2 separate regions of the Homo sapiens genome follow, and region 2 is linked to region 1. The links are contacts of gene promoters, found by promoter capture Hi-C in human tissues and cell types (Jung and others, 2019). All regions are on one chromosome and are shown on one strand. Each heading gives the region's core, a stretch centred on a gene start or on the middle of the fragment in contact. The rest is flanking DNA. Distances are from core to core; before and after follow the strand shown.

What was found. Contacts are between HindIII fragments. The study calls those that stand out against the background at their distance.
Region 2: a fragment that was not itself captured here is called in contact with the fragment with the promoter of ZNF396 in region 1 in 1 of the 25 tissues and cell types used here (dorsolateral prefrontal cortex).

What each region holds. Positions count from the first base shown.
Region 1 is chr18:35,374,786-35,379,267 of GRCh38, reverse strand. It overlaps ZNF396 (zinc finger protein 396), which reads left to right and starts at 1,931. Exons shown (of 4, transcript NM_001322286.2): 1 at 1,931-1,990. RefSeq lists silencers at 2,146-2,215, 2,226-2,415. The HindIII fragment of the contact is 8,301 bases long and covers 1-4,482 here.
Region 2 is chr18:35,934,829-35,939,243 of GRCh38, reverse strand. No RefSeq gene overlaps it. Among named protein-coding and RNA genes, the nearest start is that of MIR3929, 2.9 kb to the right of the region's middle. The HindIII fragment of the contact is 7,355 bases long and covers 1-4,415 here.

The DNA.
Region 1 (4,482 bases), core at 682-3,181:
CTCATCCTGCTGTCCTTTAATCCAGCAAATCTAAACAACATCCCACACTGGTACCTCAGTCTCAAATGTATCAACACCAGCTTTCTCCATCAACTCCAATCCCAGTCTCTACCCAGGACCTCCCTTTCTTTGTGCTTTTATAGTATCCTGCAGTTGTCTCCATCAGAATGTTGCCACATTGTTTAGAAAAGTCAATTTATTCATCTTTCTCTTTACTTAGTCTATTAGCCCCTAAAGGGCAAGAATCTATATTTTACCATTGAATTCCCGGTGTTTACGATACAACTGGTATATAGTAGGTGCTCACCCTACTGGGACCTTATTCCTGCTAATTTCTTTTCACTTTACCCCCAAAATTTTTAAAAAATTAAAACAGCAAACAAAAACCTGTTCTTGCTCTAACTACCTGACTGTGAAACTTTTCTAATCAATCTTTTATGTCTGCTCCCTTTTTTGTTGTTGCTGTTTTTAACTTTGGCCTCTGATATCTGGCTGTTTGGTGGACCATACCCATGAATTCATCATCCCTGACCTCTTGCCACATCCCACAGTTCCTCCTTCTCCTTGAAGCTTCTGACTGTCGTTCATATTCTCCTTAAATTGTCTCCTGTGACTTCACACCACTGCCAAGCCTTGCCCTCGTTTCAAATTCTCCCCTGACGTGAGTCATTTAACCTACCCTACCCACCAGCGCCAGAAACACATTCCCACCTGCACTTTTGGGCTGTTTGCTATTTGTGTTGGCAGCTGCATCAGCAAAAAGTCTTATCCTGTGAAAGCCCCTTGTTTGAAGCAAGAATTTCTTCAGATTTAGTTTTACTGTACTCTAATTGGGATCCAAACCTCTCCCTAGTCCCCTAGCGTCATAAACTGAGTAAACCAGCCTCTTCTTTCTTCACTTCAGATTCCAGTACTAACATACTTTTGGGGCGGCGTCATACCAAAAGGGATTTTTTGTTATTGTTCTTTATTAATTAGCAAGTGCTTTTCAAGCATCTCCGTCCTCTCCCTAATTCCTCAGTTACGAGTACAAGTACATTTTCCAGGAGTCCCTAGGGAAAGGGGCTAGAGAAGGAAGTCACGAGGTGGGGCTGTGGTGCATTTAGGCTTAAATTTATTTATTTATTTATTTTTTGAGACGCTCTCACTTTGCAGCCCAGGCTGGAGGGCAGTGGCGCAATCATGGCTAACTGCAGTCTCCACCTCCCCAGATTGAGGTGATCCTCACCCCTCAGCCTCCCAAGAAGCGGGGACTACAGGCATGCGTCTCTACACTCGGCTAATTTCTGTATGTTTTGTAGAGATGCGGTTTAGCCATGTTGGCCAGGCTGGTCTCGAACTCCTTGGCTCATGTGATCTGCCCATCTCGACCTCCCAAAGTGCTGGGATTACAGGCATGAGCCACCGCGCCCGGCCTCAAACTTATTTTTCAATTGAGATTAAGATTATCTGAGGAGAGATATGTGTATGTATTGTAACAAATTTTATGTGGGTCAGTTCTCACTTTTTCAAGGGCCATTGTGTTCTCCTGTGAAAGCATGGGGTTGCGGATGTCAAACTTGTCCCTTAAAACGTCAGTACTTGGGGTGTAACCACTTCGGGAGTGGGAATGGTATTAGGGATTGTACTCAGCGGTAGACAGCACAGCATTCGCCCCTCTCTGTAATCCTTGGCAAGTCACAGGACATTTGAGTTTATTTTCTGTAAAATGGGAATAACCTTACTGAGTTACCGGAGTAAATGAATAATGTAAGCAAAAGCACTTTGCGAAGCAACAATGCTAGTTTATTGAACGGAACACTGAGCAGAGCAGCTGGATTCCCACCGGTCGAGCCTCCCGGTTCTCTTTCCCTGTCCCAAGTGCGCGGCCACAGCGGCTCTTCTCCATGGCAACGTCCCCGCGTTCCGGGCCCCGCCCCGACCCGCCACCAGAACCGGAAGTTGTTGCGCAGCTGGCAGTTCCCCGGTTTCTCCCCGACGGCGTCGGGAGGTGAGACCCGAGGCCTCTTTAGGGCCCCCAGGCTGCGGTCAGAGGCGGTGGTCCCCGGGTGGTGGAAGGGGGACGCGGAGAGGCGGCCGCGGACTCGTCGCCACCCCTCCCTTCGCGCGCAAGTGCAGCACCCTTACACCGTCCCAGATCCCCAGGCCCCTCCCCTCCGCTGCCTGCCCCTGAGTCCGCGCACCCCTTCCCCTCGTCCTTCCCCGGCGGACCCCGGGCGCCTGCCCTGCCAGGTGAACCCGCGCCACCTGCCGCTTCGCCCCGGCGGTTCCCAGCCTGGGAGGCGCGCGGCGCGGCGCGGTGGGCGCGGGAGGTCGGGAGATGGTCGGAAGCCAGCCCTCCCAGAGCCGGCCCACCACAGCAGGGTAGAGCCGAGAGCGGCGTCCCCTGCAGAAAGACCCCTGCGTCCCAGGCTTTGATCGAAGCCTCCCCTCCAGGGACGTTCTTTCTGGTTGTCGTGCGGTGTCGGGGGTTCCTTACCCTCACCTCAGGTTTAGCACAGATTCTGCGCCTGGTGCTGAAGTGACAGGGCGGCCACTCTCTTCCAGAGGCTGCTTTAGCCCCGGGGTCCCTCATATATCCCTTAGGGTACCTGACGGCTCCAAACCGGTGGCCTCAACCCTTCCCACCTCTCAGGTCTTGTTCCCCAGACTCTTCTGGCCCCGCTTCATCTGGGAGCGCGGCTGCCTGCCGCCACTTCCTCCTCTGCGCTGAGACAACGCGCAGGGGTCACCACAAGGGCCCCTGCTGCCTATGGCCTCTAACCACACAGCACCATGGATAAATGTGGACGGCCTGGGTTCAGACCCCAGCTTTGCCCTTGGCCAGAGTACCTGGCTTTGCTGTGACTGCTTCCCCGTCTACAACATGGGGGTAAAAATAATCTAGGGCTTTTATGAGGATTTAACCTTTGTTTATTTTTACTAAGGTGTTCAAAACAGTGCTTGGCACATAGTAAATTCTGTTAATATGTGTGTCTGCTATTGTTTGTTTCATAGCACATCATTGTGTAAAGTTGTATCATTTATTTGGTAACAACTTTATGAACTCACAGGCTTTATACAGGGCCTAGAACAATACTTGGTGAAGTGAGAAAATAAGTCAAATGGCAGGATACATAACGATGGAAGACGGAGGCGCACGTAAGATTTTTAAAGTAGTCATCATTTGCTGAAGTTGTACAAACACTATCATATACCTCCTGCCCAATTTAAAAAATATGATTAGACCGGGTGCAGAGCCTCACGCCTGTACTCCCAGCATTTTGGGAGGCCGAGGCAGAGGGATCACCTGAGGTCAGGAGTTCGAGACCAGCCTGGCCAACATGGTGAAACCCCGTCTCTACTAAAATTATAAAAATTAGCCGGGCGTGGTGGTACACGTCTGCAATCCCAGCTACTTGGGAGGCTGAGGCAGGAGAATCGCTTGAACCCAGAAGGCAGAGGTTGCAGTGAGCCAAGATCCCGCCATTGTACTCCAGCCTGGGCAACAGGGCCAGACTCTGTCTCAAACAAAACAAAACAACAACAACAACAAAATGAGATTAGTTACTGGTGATACTTAACAGTAAAATGATACAAAGGAAAGTGCCGTCCCCCCCCAACTTTGTTGCTAACGAGCTAATAATACTTGAAGAAATCGTTGCCCTCACAAGTCACTATGATTGTGATGGTATTGTGAATTGATACAGTCTTTGTGCAATATTTTGATAATACATAGCAAGACAGAATTTGCTCTTCTCCTTTGATCCTCAACAAGCAGAGGCCTTGGGACATGCTTGAAAGAAATACTTTGAAAGGAGAAAAACAGTATATTCATAAAGATGTGCCTCCCAGCATTAATTATAATAGTGAAATTAGAAACAACCTAAGTATTTTAAAATAGTTAAGTAAGTAATATGGATATGGAAAAAAATAGAAATACATTCAGATGAAGGAACGTGATTGCCTTTTTTGTTGTTTTTTCTTTTTTTTTTTTTTTTGGTGGGGTAGAGATGGGGTCCCATTATGTTGCACAGGCTGGTCCCAAACTCCTGGGCTCAGGTGATCCTCCCATCTCCCACCTCGGCTTCCCAAAGTGCTGGGATTTCAGGCATAAGCACAGTGCCCAGCTGATTGGTTTATTTTTTTTTTAATGGTTCCTTTAATGTCGAAGTAATGTTTTAACAGTAAAAGCTGAAAAAAGTCACACAAAAGTGCTTCCCTCATGAGACTATTTCTTTGAGCTCTTTGCAGCACACTAAATACCGATTGGCTCTTTGAACTGGCTCCAGAGTTAGAGCATTTCTCAGGCTTCCCTTATTTCCATTATCTGGGAGCTTCTATGCAATCCTGGCTGATCTCTTATTGTAATATTCAGTAGCCTTGTGGGCATGGTTTTCAGAATGAATTGTGAATCACTTATGCATATGAATTAATGAGTCTTAGCTGTTTGGTTCTCTTAAAGAAGTATTCTTCAAAAGCATGGTTTCTGGGCCTGGCGTG
Region 2 (4,415 bases), core at 1,763-4,262, 560 kb before region 1:
TCCTCCCATGGAAGCGACTGAATCCTGTTTTTCAACACTTGTAAAGCCAGTTTCATCCTGTCACTCTGAGAGACATCAGCACCTACCACCCAGCACTTCCGCTTCAGAGGTTTGAGTTCCAGACCCACTGGGCTCTTGTCCAAGCTCAGAGACATCAGCACCAACTGGCCAGTACCCTCTCCTCAAAGGTCTGGGCCCCTGTCCCTCTGAGCAGCTCAGAAACACCAGTGCCAGTGGAAGCAGCTTGCCCTCTTGTGACTGAGGTAACTAGCCTTCCCTTCCTGGAAAATTTTCTCATGAAATGTTTCATAAAATGAAATTCTCTAATAGCACTTTATTTTCTGAAAAATGTCTTGGTCCATAAGTTGAATCTCGGAGGTAAGAGTGATGGATACAAAAAGGATAACACTAACCTTGGACTCTTCCCTTGCTCAAGAGGAGCCCCACATATGCAGCAGTTGAGTCATTTGCTGTCCTCAGGCAAACCCCTAGGTCTGTAATAACCATTAGATACATTTGCATAAATATAATGCAATCATGAAAGTCTCTTTCTCAGCCATGCATTGACTTATACTTTGCAAAGAGCTGGTAAAAATGTGACACCTTGGAGAGCCTGGAAAAGATTAGATTTTTCCCTAGGCACCAAAGGTTCTGTTTTTGTTTTTTAATTTTTTAGTGGATACCTATAGCATTAGAATATTCCCTAAGAATCAATGTGTCCCTTTTTTCCAGCTTAAAATCAAGGGCATGTGCACCACTTACAGGGAAACTGGCAAGCAACAGTAAACAAACCCATTTTATCAGCTTTATATAAATACCCGAGAGAAAGAAATACATTTATCTGAGAACACCACACATTATCCAAGAACTCCATGGTCCAGTGATTCTTGTCATGACTCACTTTGAAATAGACAAGTCATTGTTTAGAAAATATGTAGCTCAGTCAGACATATTTGTTCATTGAAATCTTTTGCCTTTGGCTGAGCCCTGAGCCAATATTTCCCTGAAAACCTCTTCCTCCTCTGCAACTTCTTTCTCCAGAGCAGGACAGTGGTCAATGACTTTAACAATCAAATATGAACCTGCTGAGAATTTGATGAGATCCTTTCTGATCTCTGATGTCCTATAATGCAGATGCCTTCTCTTGCTTTAAGTTTCCTTTCTTGCAGAGCCTGAGACAAGGATGTCTCAGCTAGTTTATTTGGGATGTGATTCCCAAAGAAGGGAGCATGGGGTAGAGAGGAAGCAGAGGTTACCTCTAAAGTTGGTGGAGCTCGATTCTGTCAGGCCTGGAGTTAGCACACAGAAGGCCTCTCAGAACCATCTGCTGTAGGCCAGGAGCCTAGAGCATTTCTCCATTTGCTTCCATTGCCAATTGGTTGAAGGCTACCTGGGGCAGTTCACTATCTTGCACTTCTGGGCTGCATAGAGTGGGATTATGTGAGACAGCACAAGCTGGGGTTGGGGATGCTGTCACAGCTCACATGAAACTGTCTCCCACAGTTGCAGCTCCAGTCAGAGCAGGGTAGATGGGATGGTCATAGTCACCAGAAGTGAGCAGCTGGCTTTGGAGCTGGACTACCTGGGATCAGGTCCCTAGCTCCATCACTGATTAGCCATGAGATTTTGGGCACATAAACATTACTTTTCTTGTCAGTGTAACAGGGGTAATAATAGTGCTTACCTTATGGAGTGTTGTGATCAGTAAAGATTAGCTATGGTTATCCAACAATGCTCTCCTTGTTTAAACTGTGTGCAAATCTCCCTTTTATCTTTTAAGGTGGGCAAGACTTCTCGGTGTTTCTGTATTTCTCTTCTGTGCCAGCACATGCTCAATGAAGTACCCCTTCCCTTTCCAGTTGCATACTTTAGGGTTTTGCAGCTTAGCTGCCCTTCTGAGGACTCCCCCACATGGTTTCCCTCCTCCTTTTTCATCTCTCTGCTTCTCCACCTCCCTACCCTGTTTGTCCTCAGGGTACAGAGGGGCTGCAGAGTTCAAGCCCTCAGTGTGCCCTCCTGCTGCTGCTGACAACAACCCTGTGGGGCTGGGATCACATTGTACTTCCTTGAAAAACTCACTGCACCCCGCCCTACTTTCTTGCAAGTGCTGATGTAAACATTTCTCTGCCAGAATCTGATAACATTCTAACACTGCCAGTACATAGATTAATGTCAACACTTTTGGTGATGCTCTAAATACAGATAAGCTAAAGTGGTTCAGCTAATGTCAGCATTCAAGGGCCTAAACTTCCCAAACTGACTACAGCTGCTCTAGAGCTTACTTACTACTGCTAGGAAAAAGCGTCATACCTCCCAGCAAACATAGATATTTTTCTTTTTCAGATAGTAAGATACAGGTTGAGTTGAGTATCCCTTATCTGAAATGCTTGAAACCAGAAGTGTTGCAGATTTCAATATTTTTCAGATTTTGGAATATTTGCATTACATTTAGTTGTTCAGCATCCCTAAGTCAAAAAATCTAAAATTGGAAATGCTCCAATGAGCGTCTCTTTTGAGCATCATGTTGGTACTTAAAAAGTTTTGGATTTTAGAGCATTTCAGATTTCAGCTTTCCAGAGTAGGGATACTCAACCTGTAATAATTTTAACCTTGGCTGACAGAATGCTCGGAGCTAAATTGTATGTTCCAACCTAAGAGTTATACTTCACTGATGTTTTCTGATATATCCATCTTTTCCCCTGGATAATTAACTCTTATTTTATTATCCTAATATATAGGTATTTTGTTGTAAGCCATGTGAAATCCTTATAGAAGTAAGCAGTGCGTGAGTAGAAAATGATGCGTGAATTATTAGAGGTGTCATTGCCCCATGAAAATATACAACCTATGTTGGTTATATAGTCGTTCCTGAACACAACATCTTTCAAGGCCAGGATTTCTAAAACTCATTACATGAGTAGTTGGTAGTTTCCATTCTCTTTTGTTTAATATTTCAGAGGATATGTAGTATTTTAGTGAGGAGGTTTTGGGTGCAGGGTACTAAAAACCTAATCCAATGCACAGGTTTGAACATTAGATGGGATTCACTAAGTTTTTGCGACACAAATGCTTGGTGGGCTCCAGGTGTGGTTTGATCAGGGTTCTGGTTCTGTCTTAACTTCTCTTAGTTTCTCTTGCCCTGTGTGGGCTTTGTCTTCAGGCTGGCTTTCCTCGGCAGGGCAGGCCTGCCAGTTGTCTCTGATGAAGACATACTCTCTCTGCAGGAGTTCATCCCTGAACAAAATACCACAGCAAGGGGAGTGGGGGATGCCCTGATTGGGCTAGACTGGTCAGGCCCGGGCTGATGCTGGGATGCACGGGGGAGTCAACCCCACACAAAACCCAGGTGCTTCACAGTGGGGGTGGGGTGGGGTGGCAGACAGGAAGGGAGGTTTATTCTCACTCCATTGACAAGGCTGATGAAAAGAACCACTAGGAGAAGAGCTACTATAAAACTCTGCACATATAATTATTAGGGATGAACAATGCCAGGTTGTGCTTGATGGGCCTTCTAAGTCCTTTTGGAGCCCTCTCACTTTCTGGTAAGCCTTTAGACAAAATCTGCTTTGCGATGCCTCTAGAATGGGGCAGGTGGAAAGCTTCCTGCAATTACATTCCTTTTATATAATGTTTCTCCACCAGAGGTTTGCAGTTTTATAGGATTCACCTGCCAATTGGCAACTGATTTGAGACACGTTAGTGCATCAGCAGAAGTGGGGGACATGCCGAGGGAGCAGCCTGGTGCTTGGCGGAATGTATCCTCTAATCACTTTTCGCCAGAAAGACCCTTAAAGCAATTATACGCTTCTGCAAAGAGAACTGGAAAAGGGTTCTGGATACTTTCTCCTCTTAATTAACCAAAGAATATGCCAATTCTTTTTAGAAAGTAAACTTTTTTCCCTAGTAACTATATTGTCCCATATCTGGTTATAATTTGTGTCTGAAGTAAGTAATTAATAGAGGACTGCCAGAATTTATGAGAATAAGAAACCCCATGAGTTCACGCGTGCACACACACACACTCAGAGGACATTGATATAGTTTGGATACTTGTGCCCTACAAATCTCACGTTGGAATGGCAACCCCAATGTTGGAGGTGGGCCTAGTGGGAGGTGTTTGCATCACAGGGGTGGATCCCTCTTGAGTGGCCTGGTGCCATCCTTGCAGTAATGAGGGAGTTCTTGCTCTACCAATTCGCCCAAGATCTGGTTATTTAAAAGAGCCTGAGACTTCCTTCTCTCTCTTGCTCCCTCTCTCACTACGTGATATACTGGCTCCCCTTCACCTGCTGCCATGATTGGAAGCTTCTGAGGCCCTATGCTTCCTGTATAGGCTGCAGAAGCATGAGCCAAATAAACCCCTGTTCTTTATAAATTACCCAGTTTCAGGTATTCCTTTATTGCAAAGTAAACAG